Linked DNA regions of Homo sapiens: regions 2, 3 and 4 are each linked to region 1. The links are contacts of gene promoters, found by promoter capture Hi-C in blood cells and fetal thymus (Javierre and others, 2016). All regions are on one chromosome and are shown on one strand. The core of a region is centred on a gene start or on the middle of the fragment in contact, and the rest is flanking DNA. Distances in the headings are between cores, read along the strand shown. Region 1 holds the start of OBSCN-AS1 (OBSCN antisense RNA 1). Region 2 has its middle 5.2 kb from the start of MIR4666A. Region 3 holds the start of H3-4 (H3.4 histone, cluster member). Region 4 has its middle 9.0 kb from the start of H2AC25.

Region 1 (2,980 bases), core at 164-2,663:
CGACGGCCCCCGCGTGCGCGTGGAGGAGCTCGGCGAGGCAAGTGCGCTGCGCATTCGGGCGGCGCGGCCGCGCGACGGCGGCACTTACGAGGTCCGCGCCGAGAACCCGCTGGGCGCTGCCAGCGCCGCCGCGGCGCTAGTGGTGGACTCGGACGCCGCGGACACGGCCAGCCGGCCCGGGACCTCCACGGCCGCGCTCCTGGCGCACCTGCAGCGGCGGCGCGAGGCTATGCGCGCCGAGGGCGCCCCCGCCTCACCGCCCAGCACCGGCACGCGCACCTGCACGGTGACTGAAGGCAAGCACGCGCGCCTCAGCTGCTACGTGACCGGCGAGCCCAAGCCCGAGACGGTGTGGAAGAAGGACGGCCAGCTGGTGACCGAGGGCCGGCGCCACGTGGTGTACGAGGACGCGCAGGAGAACTTCGTGCTCAAGATCCTCTTCTGCAAGCAGTCGGACCGCGGCCTCTACACCTGCACGGCGTCCAACCTCGTGGGCCAGACCTACAGCTCTGTGCTGGTCGTAGTGCGCGGTGAGCTCCTGGGTGCGGGGCGCGCGGGCCCAGGCTCCTCCGCAACCCGTGCACCTGGGTCCTTTCGCCCTTGCGGTCTGCCGTTTCCCACCCGCGTCTGTCCGGTCGTGGAATCCAGGGTTGCAGGTGTCCGTTCCTGGTGCGCAAAATGCGGGCGACGCCCCACGACCTATTCTAAACACCCGCAACCCGCTTTCCCCACCCAGTCCCCTGCCCGCCCCGCCCCCTTTGCATGCCGCGCCCCCAACCCGCCACCGCTGGCCCACAGACAGGGGCGAGAGGTGTGAGAGGGGCGGGGCCGCAGGGGATCCCACCTCCTCAGCCCCGCCCTCTCCCTCCCGCTGCTCCCAACCCAACCTCCACCACTCTGCCTTCTGCTCTTCTACTCCCCCGCCCCCCAACTTCCTGTCTCCTCCCCTGCGCCCTTCCCAACCCTTAGCCCCTCTGCCTCCTGCTCGCTCCTCTCCCCAGCCCACTCCTCTACCCTGCACCCTCTCCTTTCCAGCCTCCCAGCCCCTCTGCTCCTGTCCCCTATTCCTTCCCACACCCTCACCTCTGCATCCTCCAGTCTCCTTTCCCGCCCACAATCCCCCAATTTCCCCCTTCCCACCCCGCCGTCGTCCTGCACCCTCCGGCCCCGCCCCTCTCACCAGTCTTCTCTCCTGGCAGAGCCCGCGGTTCCCTTCAAAAAGCGGCTGCAAGATCTGGAGGTGCGGGAGAAGGAGTCGGCCACGTTCCTATGTGAGGTGCCCCAGCCGTCCACTGAGGCCGCGTGGTTCAAGGAGGAGACGCGGTTGTGGGCGAGCGCCAAGTACGGCATCGAGGAGGAGGGCACCGAGCGCCGCCTGACCGTGCGCAATGTCTCGGCCGACGACGACGCGGTGTACATCTGCGAGACGCCAGAGGGCAGCCGCACGGTGGCGGAGCTCGCAGTCCAAGGCAGGCGGGGCGGGGCACGGGGCGGGGCACAGGGCGGCTTCGGGGAGGTAGCGGGGGCAAGGAGGCACCGAGAAGGGAGCCGGGGGCGGGGGAGGGGGGAGCCAGGCCGCACGGGCTGGGCGGGCACGGGGGCGGGCAGGGTGCAGACGGACTGGGCTTGCGAGGTACGAGTTGGGACTGGGGCAGGCAGGGGCGGGACTGGGGCGGGAAGGGCAGGTAAGGTGGGGGCGGAGGAGCAAGCTCGGGCCGGGCACGGGGTGGTGATTAGGGGGAAGGGGAGACGGAGTGGGCAGGGGTCTTGTGGGACCGAGCTGGGACTTGGGCCGGCGGGACAGGTAAGGGGTTGCGCGGGGGAGTGAATCGGAGGCAGTTGGGAACCGGGAGACAGGGGGCAAGCGGAGGAGCGAGTCTGGAGCGGGGCGTGCAGGGGCTGGTCTGACTGGCCCGGCTCCCTCCACCCCAGGAAACCTCCTCCGAAAGCTCCCTCGGAAGACGGCGGTGCGCGTGGGCGACACGGCTATGTTTTGCGTGGAGCTGGCGGTCCCGGTGGGCCCCGTCCACTGGCTGCGGAACCAGGAGGAAGTGGTGGCGGGGGGCCGCGTGGCCATCTCCGCGGAGGGCACGCGCCACACACTAACCATCTCCCAGTGCTGCCTGGAGGATGTGGGCCAGGTGGCCTTTATGGCTGGCGACTGCCAGACGTCCACCCAGTTCTGCGTGTCGGGTGAGGGCCTGAGGGTGCTCCCAGGATGGCATCGCTTCCCTGCTGTCTCCCTGGTCCCAGTCCCCTGCCCTCCATTACCTCAGCTCTCTGGGCTTCAGCCTGCTGTACCGAGGGCCGCCGGGCAAGACCATAGCCCTGGCCCTCCAACGTTAGGCTCCCTGAGCCCCCGCGCAGTCTTTCAGCTGCAACCAGAGAAGTGGCTGCAGGTCTGGGGCTGGAGGTTGTGGCCAGTGGTCCAGGTCCCCAGAGCAGCCCCAAGAGAGCTGGGGATCCTGTGACACCCCTCCAGGTGATTCCAGACCCAGGGCTCAGGAAGAGGCTCCCAGTAGTTGACCTCTGCCCACCCTCTACACAGCCCCCAGGAAGCCTCCCCTGCAACCCCCTGTGGATCCTGTGGTAAAGGCCAGGATGGAGAGTTCCGTGATTCTCAGCTGGTCCCCACCACCCCATGGGGAACGCCCTGTCACTATCGACGGCTACCTGGTAGAGAAGAAGAAGCTTGGCACCTACACCTGGATCAGGTGCCACGAGGCTGAATGGGTGGCTACACCTGAGCTGACCGTGGCTGATGTGGCGGAGGAGGGGAACTTCCAGTTCCGAGTGTCCGCTCTCAACAGCTTTGGTCAGAGTCCCTACCTCGAGTTCCCGGGGACTGTCCACCTGGGTAAGTGGGACCTCCCTGTTACAACCTACGGGGCTGCTCACCTGCCCCGGAATCCCCCAGGTCCAGCTTCAGGGGAGGCCAGAGTGGCCTCATGGGGACCTTCTGTGGGGAGGGGGGCTGCCA
Region 2 (2,764 bases), core at 141-2,640, 250 kb after region 1:
AACTCACAGGGAAGGATGTGGCTTTCATGTCTGAGGCTCCAGAGCACAGAGTGTGGCACCAGCAGGGGCCCAGTCAGTATCTGCTTGTGAATAAGCCTGTGAGCTGAGGCAGTACCCTCTACATTCAAGTCTGTCCTCTGAGGTCTTCTGGGCATCTTGAGACTGTGGGTTCCCTGAATGGCTTTGGGCATACCCAGCATTAAGCACTTTATCTGCTTCCTTTTGAAATATGTGGTTGATTTACCAAGCATTTCTAGAGTGCTCACTAAGAGCTGGCTAGGTAACCACTTAATAAATACTTGATTCAATTTAGTTCTCAAACAGCCCTTTGACAAAGATTCTCTGCTTGGCCAAACTCTGGTCAGGCTCCAGAACCTCCTCCTGGGTCCATCTGTGCACTTTCTTGTGAAATCCAGTTTTAGGAAGAGCCCCGCTAAGTCAGTTTAACTAGAACCCCTGATTCTGAATATCTGATCGCCCTCTGTGCTATCTGATGGGGTTCCTCATCCTCCATCCCCAGGTGATATCTGATCACCCTGCCTGCCTCCAGCAAGAGCCATGTGAGGTTCGTTTACCCAGAATCCCCCTCACACCTGATGTCTTCTTCTTCTTCTTCTTCTTCTTCTTCTTCTTCTTCTTCTTCTTCTTCTTCTTCTTCTTCTTCTTCTTCTTCTTCTTCTTCTTCTTTTTGAGATGGAATCTTGCTCTGTTGCCCAGTAGCACAATCTCAGTTCACTGCAACGTCCACCTCCCGGGTTCAAATGATTTTCCTGCCTCAGCCTCCTGAGTAGCTGGGATTACAGGCATGCCTGACCATGCTAGGCTAAGTTTTGTATTTTTAGTGGAGACAGGGTTTTGCCATATTGGCCAGGCTGGTCTCAAACTGCTGACCTCAAGTGATCCACCCTCCTCAGCCTCCCAAAGTGTTAGGATTACAGGCATGAGCCACCGTACTTGGCCCTGATGTCTCCTCTTAATACTGTTCTATCCACTAATCTACCCTACTCCTGTCTATAAATTTCCACTTGTCAGTGCGGTACTCAGAATTGAGCCCAATCTCTCTACCCTGCTGCAGAATCCCACTGCAATGGTCCTAATCCTACTCCACCGTCCTGAATGAAGCCTTCCTCACCATGGTTTAACAAACGTTAATATATGTACATATATAGCACTGCTTGCCTTGGTCCTGCCAGCCCAGTGAGATGCTGGTCTTCCCACCAGGTTCTTACTAAGGCTTCCTGGCTTCCTACTGGTGTGGAAAGGTTTGAAACAAAACTTGGAGTGGGACAGGAGGTGGGCATTCTAAGGACTTTGGGTAAGAATATGTCTTTCAGGTACTAAGATTTAGGATTTGCTCTGCCCACCATATGGTGGCTGCTTGGTGGTGTCAGGAAATCAGTCCTGGTTCTCATGGGTGGTGATTGCTAGGGACTCAATGTCTGCGTTCCCTCCAAATTTCTAGGTTGAAAACCCCCATCCCCAGGGTGATGGTGTTAGAAGGTGGGGCCTTTGGGGGATGATTATGTCATGAGGGTGGAGTGGCATGGTAGGATTCATGCCCTTATAAGAAGAGACACAAGACAGCTTGCTTTTCTCTTTCTCTCTGCTGCAGGGCCCAAGGAAAAACTTTCCTATTGCCCTCTGAAGATTCACTAAAAATCAGCTGACAAAAGACAGATTAAAAGAGAAAAGGCATACACATTTATTTGATCATAGTTTAGTGTGACAAAAAAGCCTTCAGAATGAATACAGAAGAAGCTGTCTATTTTAATGCTTAGGTTCAACAAAATATGGACTGCTATGTAGAAATAGGATTGGGCATGATCTACTGCTAATACACTGAGTGGGGACATCCAGCAAGCCCTGTCTGTCTAGATTCTTCTTGGCCTCTCTGCGTGGCATTCCTTCCTCTTGGGTATGAGACAGGACCCTCTGTGGAATGGGAGTCTTATGACGTACAACCAGACAAGGTGGCCCAGAGAATTTATGGTCAGCATTTGCACAGAAAGGCAGGAGTTAGAGTAATATTTTTAGGATTTGTGTCTGGCTGTGGGGAAAAGGGGTTGCGGTTTTTATGACCTGCCTTGGGGAAGAGGTATTCTAGTTTCTATGGCCAGTCTGGGGGAGAATGGGACTGAGACAGGAAGGCAGGAGATCAGAGAAAGTTTTTTGCTTCAGAGGTCTTCATTTTAGGATATCGCTTTCTAGCACCATGTGAGGACACAGGGAGAAGATGGCTAGGTGCAAACCAGTAAGAATGACCTCACAAAACCCAACCCTGCTGACACCCTGATCTCAGACTACTAGCCTTGGATAATCAGCACTCTTTGGGGGAAAATAACGACACAAAATGTATGTGTTATGTAACTGTAATGTGCAGTTTGTATTAAATGTCTTTTGTGTGTGTGTGTGTGTGTGTGTGTGTTTTTTTTTTGAGACAGGGTCTTGCTCTGTTGCCCAGGCCAGAGTGCAGTGGTGTGATTCATAGCTCACTGCAGCCTCAAACTCCTGGGTTCAAGCAATCCTCCTATCTCAGCCTCCCAAGTAGCTGGGACTATAGGTACGTGCCACCATGCCTGGCTAATTTTTTTTTTTTTTGTAGAGACAGGGTTTTTCTATGTTTCCCACACAGGTCTCTTTTCCCCCAAAGACTTTGATAAATTTCTGTTGTTTAAGTCTCCCCTTCTGTAGCATTTTGTTAGAACAGCCTGAGCCAATTGAGACAGTGTCTCGGATCAAGACCAACATGATGTATTGGCAGACG
Region 3 (2,968 bases), core at 181-2,680, 210 kb after region 1:
AGGTAACGCGTGTGAGTAGCTGGCCTCCTAACTGGACAGGGTGAACACAGGATTCACCAGCCTCCCACCCTAATCAGAAGTAGGTAAGCCAGCACAGGCCAGCGGAAGGAACCCCCCGAAACCCAAGAGACTAGCTTGCTACAGCAACTCTTCGACCAGGTGGGTGGCTCTTAAAAGAGCCTTTGGGGTGAACGTTGCGCAACCTCTCAGGTGGCGAGATAGCCCTCCTAGGCCCGCTCCCCGCGGATACGGCGTGCCAGCTGGATGTCCTTAGGCATGATGGTGACCCGTTTGGCATGGATGACACACAGGTTGGTGTCCTCAAACAGCCCCACCAGGTAAGACTCGCACGCCTCCTGCAGCGCCATCACGGCCGAGCTCTGGAAGCGCAGGTCGGTCTTAAAGTCCTGAGCGATCTCGCGCATCAGCCGCTGGAAGGGCAACTTGCGGATTAGCAGCTCAGTGGACTTCTGGTAGCGGCGGATCTCGCGAAGCGCCACCGTGCCGGGCCGGTAGCGGTGCGGCTTCTTCACGCCGCCAGTGGCAGGTGCGCTCTTGCGAGCCACCTTGGTGGCCAGCTGCTTGCGCGGCGCCTTGCCACCCGTTGACTTGCGCGCAGTCTGCTTGGTTCGGGCCATGAATCCGAAACTGTTGGCCCCGCGGTGTCCTCTGCCCAGACCTCAGCGGATTGCTCGCTTTTATAGAGCTTGCCGCGTTCCCATTGGCTGGCCTCAGGTGGCGTGATGGCCCACTGCTCTCTGATTGGCCCACAGGGAACTCCACTCGGGCGCCTCTCCCTTATATTCATGCCTGTTGGTCGTGGCCACCAGAGCTGGCACCAGCATTGTGAAGGGTTGATGCGGGTAGGCCGCGGTGGTGGGGATCATCTCTCTCCAGCACAAGCTTCCTCATGTCTTCTCAGCGCTCCTCTTCTCCCTTCCCCATGACTTGGGTGGCAAGAGCCTTCCAGAAGCCAGCACATGGCATTCCACTTTTTTAAAAAATTAATTTATTTTTTTATTTTTTGAGATGGAGTTTCACTCTTGTTGCCCAGGCTGGAGTGCAATAGCGTGATCTCTGCTTACTGCAACCTCCACCTCCCAGGTTCAAGCGATTCTCCTGCCTCAGCCTCCCGAGTAACTGGAATTACAGGGATTACAGGTGTCCGCCACCATGCCTGGCTAATTTTTTGTGTTTTTAATAGAGATGGGGTTTCACCATATTGGCCAGGCTGGTCTCGAACTCCTGACCTCAGGTGATCCACCCGCCTCGGCCTCCCAAAGTGCTGGGATTACAGGCATGAGCCACCAGGCCCAGCTGGCATTTCACTTTTTTTTTTTTTTTTTTGAGACGGAGTCTCTCTCTGTCGCCCAGGCTGGAGTGCAGTGGCGCAATCCCAGCTCACTGCAAGCTCCGCCTCCCGGGTTCACGCCATTCTCCTGCCTCAGCCTACAGAGTAGCTGGGACTACAGGTGCCCGCCATCATGCCTGGCTAATTTTGTTTTGTATTTTTAGTAGAGACGGGGTTTCACCATGTTAGCCAGGATGGTCTCGATCTCCTGACCTCGTGATCCGCCCGCCTCGGCCTCCCAAAGTGTTGGGATTACAGGCGTGAGCCAGCGTGCCCGGCCGGCATTCCACTTTTACACAGTGACAAAGCTCTGGGATGCAGCCAGAGTTAAAGGAATCTCCCACTTTTTATGACCTGCAAAGAACTCCCTTACCTGTACGGCTTAGATGAGCCTTAGGATTCTGAAGAAGGTAAAGATGTGCCTTTCTGGCATATTGTCTATTTTGAGATAAAGGCACTTAAAAAAAAAAAAGAAGAAGCAGGTGTAGGAAGATCATTCTGAATTTCTTGTTGTTTCTTAAATACAAGAGATGAAATTCCCATATGAAAGATGTTCTCCTTATAGTAAAAGCAAGGGAACGTTCTTATCATCAAGGACGGGAGGTGGAAGCTTCCAAATCTCCTCCAACTCTCAAGTTGAAATTTGATCCCTAAAGTTGGAGCCCAGGGAGGGGGGGGCCAGTGGGAGGTGTGTGGGTCCTGGGGTGTCACCCTCTGAATAGAGTCCTGCCCTCCTTTAGGGTGAGTTTTCACTCTGTTGGTTCCCTGAAGAGCTGGTGTTGAAAAGAGCCTGGCACCCCTCTCCCCTCTCTCTCTGGCGTCCTCTCTCGCGGCAGCCCTGTGACCTCTGCACATACATGGGTTCCCCTTCACCTTCCACCATGAGCAGAAGCAGCCAGAGGCCCTCACCAGAAGCAGAGGTGGGCCCTATGCTTGCTTCCTTCCTTTCTCCCTCCCTCCCTTCCTTTCTCCTTCCCTCCCTTCCTCACTCCCTCCCTTCCTTTCTCCTTCCCTCCCTTCCTTTCTCCTTCCCTCCCTTCCTTTCTCCTTCCCTCCCTTCCTTTCTCCTTCCCTCCCTTCCTCACTCCCTCCCTCCCTTCCTTTTTTTCTTCTCCCTTCCCCTCCCCTCCTTTCCCTCCTTTTTTCATCTTGCTCTGTTGCCCAGGCCCCTCTTACCTCAGCCTCCCAAGTAGCTGGGACCACATCCAGCTAATTTTTAAATTTTTAATTTTTTTGTAGAGATGGGCTGTCATTATGTTGCCCAAGCTGGTCTTGAATTCCTGAGTTCAACTGATCCCCCGACCTTGGCCTCCCAAAGTGCTAGGATTACACCGTGCCCGGCCACTATGCTTTTTTTTTTTTAATTTTTTGACCTGAGTCTCACTCTGTTGCCCAGGCTGGAGTGCAGTGATGTGATCTCAGCCCACTGCAACATCCGCCTCCCGGGAAGTTCAAGCGACTCTCCTGCCTCAGCCTCCTGAGTAGCTGGGATTACAGGCGTGAGCCACTGCGCCCAGCCACTGTGCTTCTTGTACAGCCTGCGAAACCATAAGCCAAATAAACCTTTTTTTTTTTTAATAAATCATCCAGCCTCAGGTATTCCTTTAACAACATGAA
Region 4 (2,700 bases), core at 117-2,616, 240 kb after region 1:
CTTCCCGGGCTCGAGGGATACTCCCGCCTCAGCCTCTGGACTAGATGGGACCTCAGGAACGACCACGCCCCGCTGATTTTTAAAAATTTTTTGTACAGACGGAGTCTTCCTATGTTGCCCAGGCTGGTCTCCAAAGCCTGGGCTCTAGCAATCCTCCCACCTTAGGCTCTGGGATTAGAGGCATGAGCCACCCTACCGACCCTCCTAGATTAGTAATGTTGAACACCTATTCATATGCCTGTTGGCCATATGTATGCCTTCTTGGGAGAAATGCCTATTTAGGTCCTTTGTCTATTTTTAAAGTTAGGTTATTTGGTTCTTGTTTTGGTTTTGTTTTTTGCTAATAAGTTGTAGGAGCTCTTATATATTTTGGGTATTAACCCCTTACCAGATGTTTGGTTTGCAAATGTTTTCACCCATCCATAGGTTGCCTTTTAATTTTGTTGATCCAGCCATCTCACTTCTGAGTATGCCCAATGGAAATAAAATCACTGTCATAAAGAGATACTTGCACTCCCATGTTAATTACAGCACTATTCATAATAGCTGAGATACAGAAACAACCTAAATGTCCATCAGTGAATGAATAAAGAAAACGTGGTATAGATATTAGTGTTACATGCTATACTACACTATAATAATGAAAATTATTCAGGTCTAAAAAAGAAGGAAACCATGTCAACAACATGGATGAACCCAGAGGACATTATGCTAAGTGAAATAAGCCAGGCACAGAAAGACAAATAATACTGCATGAGCCAACTTATATATGGAATCTAAAAAAGTCAGGGGCTGGGTGAGGAGGAGTACAAAGCTTCAGCTATAAGATAAGTAGTTCTGGAGACCTGAAGCACAGCATGGAGACTCTGGTTAATAACATATCATGGACATAAAATTTACTGAGTAGATCTTACATGTTGTCACCGCACACACAGACACATGCACACACACACAGGTAACCACATGAGGTGATGTGTGTGTTAATTGATTTGACTGTGGTAATCATTTCACCACGTGACATGTACCAAGACATCATGCTGTGCACCTTGAATATGTACGAGCTTTATTTGTAGATCATACTGTCAGAGGCATTTGAGTTAGAGCAACTCCATCTTGAATAGGGGCTGGGTAAAATAAGGCTGAGACCTGCTGGACTGCATTCCCAGGAGGTTAGGCATTCTAAGTTACAGGATGAGATAGGAGGTCGGCACAAGATATAGGTCACAAAGACCTTGCTAATGAAACAGCACGCGGTAAAGAAGGCAGCCAAATCCCACCAAAACCAAGATGGCGACTAATGTGACCTCTGGTCGTCCTCACTGCTCATTATAATACATTAATTATCATTAATTATAAGTAAAAGATACTCCCAACAGCATCATGACAATTTACAAATGCCATGGAAACATCAGGAAGTTACCCTATATGGTCTATAAAGGGAAGGAACCCTCAGGTCCAAGAATTGCTCACCCCTTTCCTGGGAAACGCATGAATAATTCACCCCTTGTTTAGCATATAATCAAGAAATGACCATAAAAGTGGCCAACCAGTAGCCCTCAGAGCTGCTCTGCCTATGGAGTAGCCATTCTTTTATCCCTTCACTTTCTTCCTTTTTTTTTTAATGGTGAAAATATATGCATATATTTAGAATTAGCCAGCTGGACTCAGTTTAGATGATCCCAATTTTGTTGGTAACATCCAAAGCACTGTAATCAGGAGCCAGTTGAACATATGCTCTCCATCAGGCTGATCAGGGTGTTGACCTTGGCCACATTAATGTCACAGAGCTTCTTCACAGCCTGTTTGATCTGGTGCTTCTTGGCTTTAACATCCACAGTGATCACAAGTGTGTTGCTGTCTTCTATCTTCTTCATGGCAGACTCAGTGGTTAGTGGAAACTTGATGATAGCACAGTGGTCAAGCTTGTTGGGGACAATTTGCCCAGGATATTTGGGCTGCCTCCGGAGTCACAGTGTCTTGGGCCACCAGAAGGTGGGTGACATGCGGATCTTCTTTTTTTGTGTGTGGCTATGGACACCTTTCAACACTGCCTTCTTGGCCTTCAAAGCCTTTGCTTTGGCTTCGGCTTTAGGAAGGGCAGGAGTTTCCTTCTTCGCTTTCAGTGCCATCTTGTGAAAAGCTCCTTTACTTTCTTAATAAACTTGCTTTCACTTTATGGATTTGCCCTGAATTCTTTCTTGTATGAGATCCAAGAACCCTCTCTTGGGGTCTGGATCGAGACCCCTTTCCGGTAACAGTACCTCAATAAAGCTGGGAAAAAATAAAAAGGGACCAGTAAAGCATTCTCAACAACAAAGAGCGTGGGGCTTTTCTTTGTAGGGCCCTGTGAGGCCTCTGGGGGTTTTCCAAGAAGCAAGGGCTTTGAGACTGTGTGGGTAAAGCTCCTGGGGCTGGAAATGTGATAGTTTTATAACTGTGATGATAGGGCCAGGCACAATGGCTCATGCCTGTAATTGGGAGGCCAAGGCGGGAGGAATGCATGAGCACAGGTGTTGGAGACCAGCCTGGGCAATATGGTGAAACCACTGTCTCTACAAAATACAAAAAACTACCCAGGTTTGGGGAGCCTGCCTGTAGTCCCAGCTACTCAGGAGGCTGAGGTGGGAGGATTGCTTGAGGTTGAGACAGCAGTGAGCTGTGATTGTTGCCACTGCACTGCACTCCAGTCTCGGCAACAAA

Evidence for each region. Contacts are between HindIII fragments. The CHiCAGO score rates a contact against its expected background, and 5 or more counts as called.
Region 2: a contact is called between a fragment that was not itself captured here and the fragment with the promoter of OBSCN-AS1 in region 1, in 13 of 17 cell types (naive CD4 T cells, non-activated CD4 T cells, total CD4 T cells and 10 more). The highest score is 9.7, in naive CD4 T cells.
Region 3: a fragment that was not itself captured here is called in contact with the fragment with the promoter of OBSCN-AS1 in region 1 in 2 of 17 cell types (non-activated CD4 T cells and endothelial precursors); the score reaches 6.0 in non-activated CD4 T cells.
Region 4: a contact is called between a fragment that was not itself captured here and the fragment with the promoter of OBSCN-AS1 in region 1, in 4 of 17 cell types (naive CD8 T cells, non-activated CD4 T cells, M0 macrophages and 1 more). The highest score is 7.1, in naive CD8 T cells.

Annotation. Positions count from the first base shown.
Region 1 is chr1:228,212,242-228,215,221 of GRCh38, forward strand. OBSCN-AS1 (OBSCN antisense RNA 1) reads right to left here and starts at 1,414. Exons shown (of 2, transcript NR_073155.1): 1 at 1,181-1,414. It overlaps OBSCN (obscurin, cytoskeletal calmodulin and titin-interacting RhoGEF), which reads left to right. Exons shown (of 116, transcript NM_001386125.1): 2 at 1-530; 3 at 1,200-1,469; 4 at 1,933-2,193; 5 at 2,549-2,857. RefSeq lists a silencer at 1,501-1,550. The HindIII fragment of the contact is 3,550 bases long and covers 1-2,689 here.
Region 2 is chr1:228,465,926-228,468,689 of GRCh38, forward strand. No RefSeq gene overlaps it. Among named protein-coding and RNA genes, the nearest start is that of MIR4666A, 5.2 kb to the left of the region's middle. The HindIII fragment of the contact is 2,790 bases long and covers 1-2,764 here.
Region 3 is chr1:228,424,688-228,427,655 of GRCh38, forward strand. It overlaps H3-4 (H3.4 histone, cluster member), which reads right to left and starts at 673. Exons shown (of 1, transcript NM_003493.3): 1 at 158-673. The coding sequence starts at 638. The coding sequence ends at 228. The HindIII fragment of the contact is 1,058 bases long and covers 902-1,959 here.
Region 4 is chr1:228,447,492-228,450,191 of GRCh38, forward strand. It overlaps the pseudogene RPL23AP15. Among named protein-coding and RNA genes, the nearest start is that of H2AC25, 9.0 kb to the right of the region's middle. The HindIII fragment of the contact is 1,108 bases long and covers 813-1,920 here.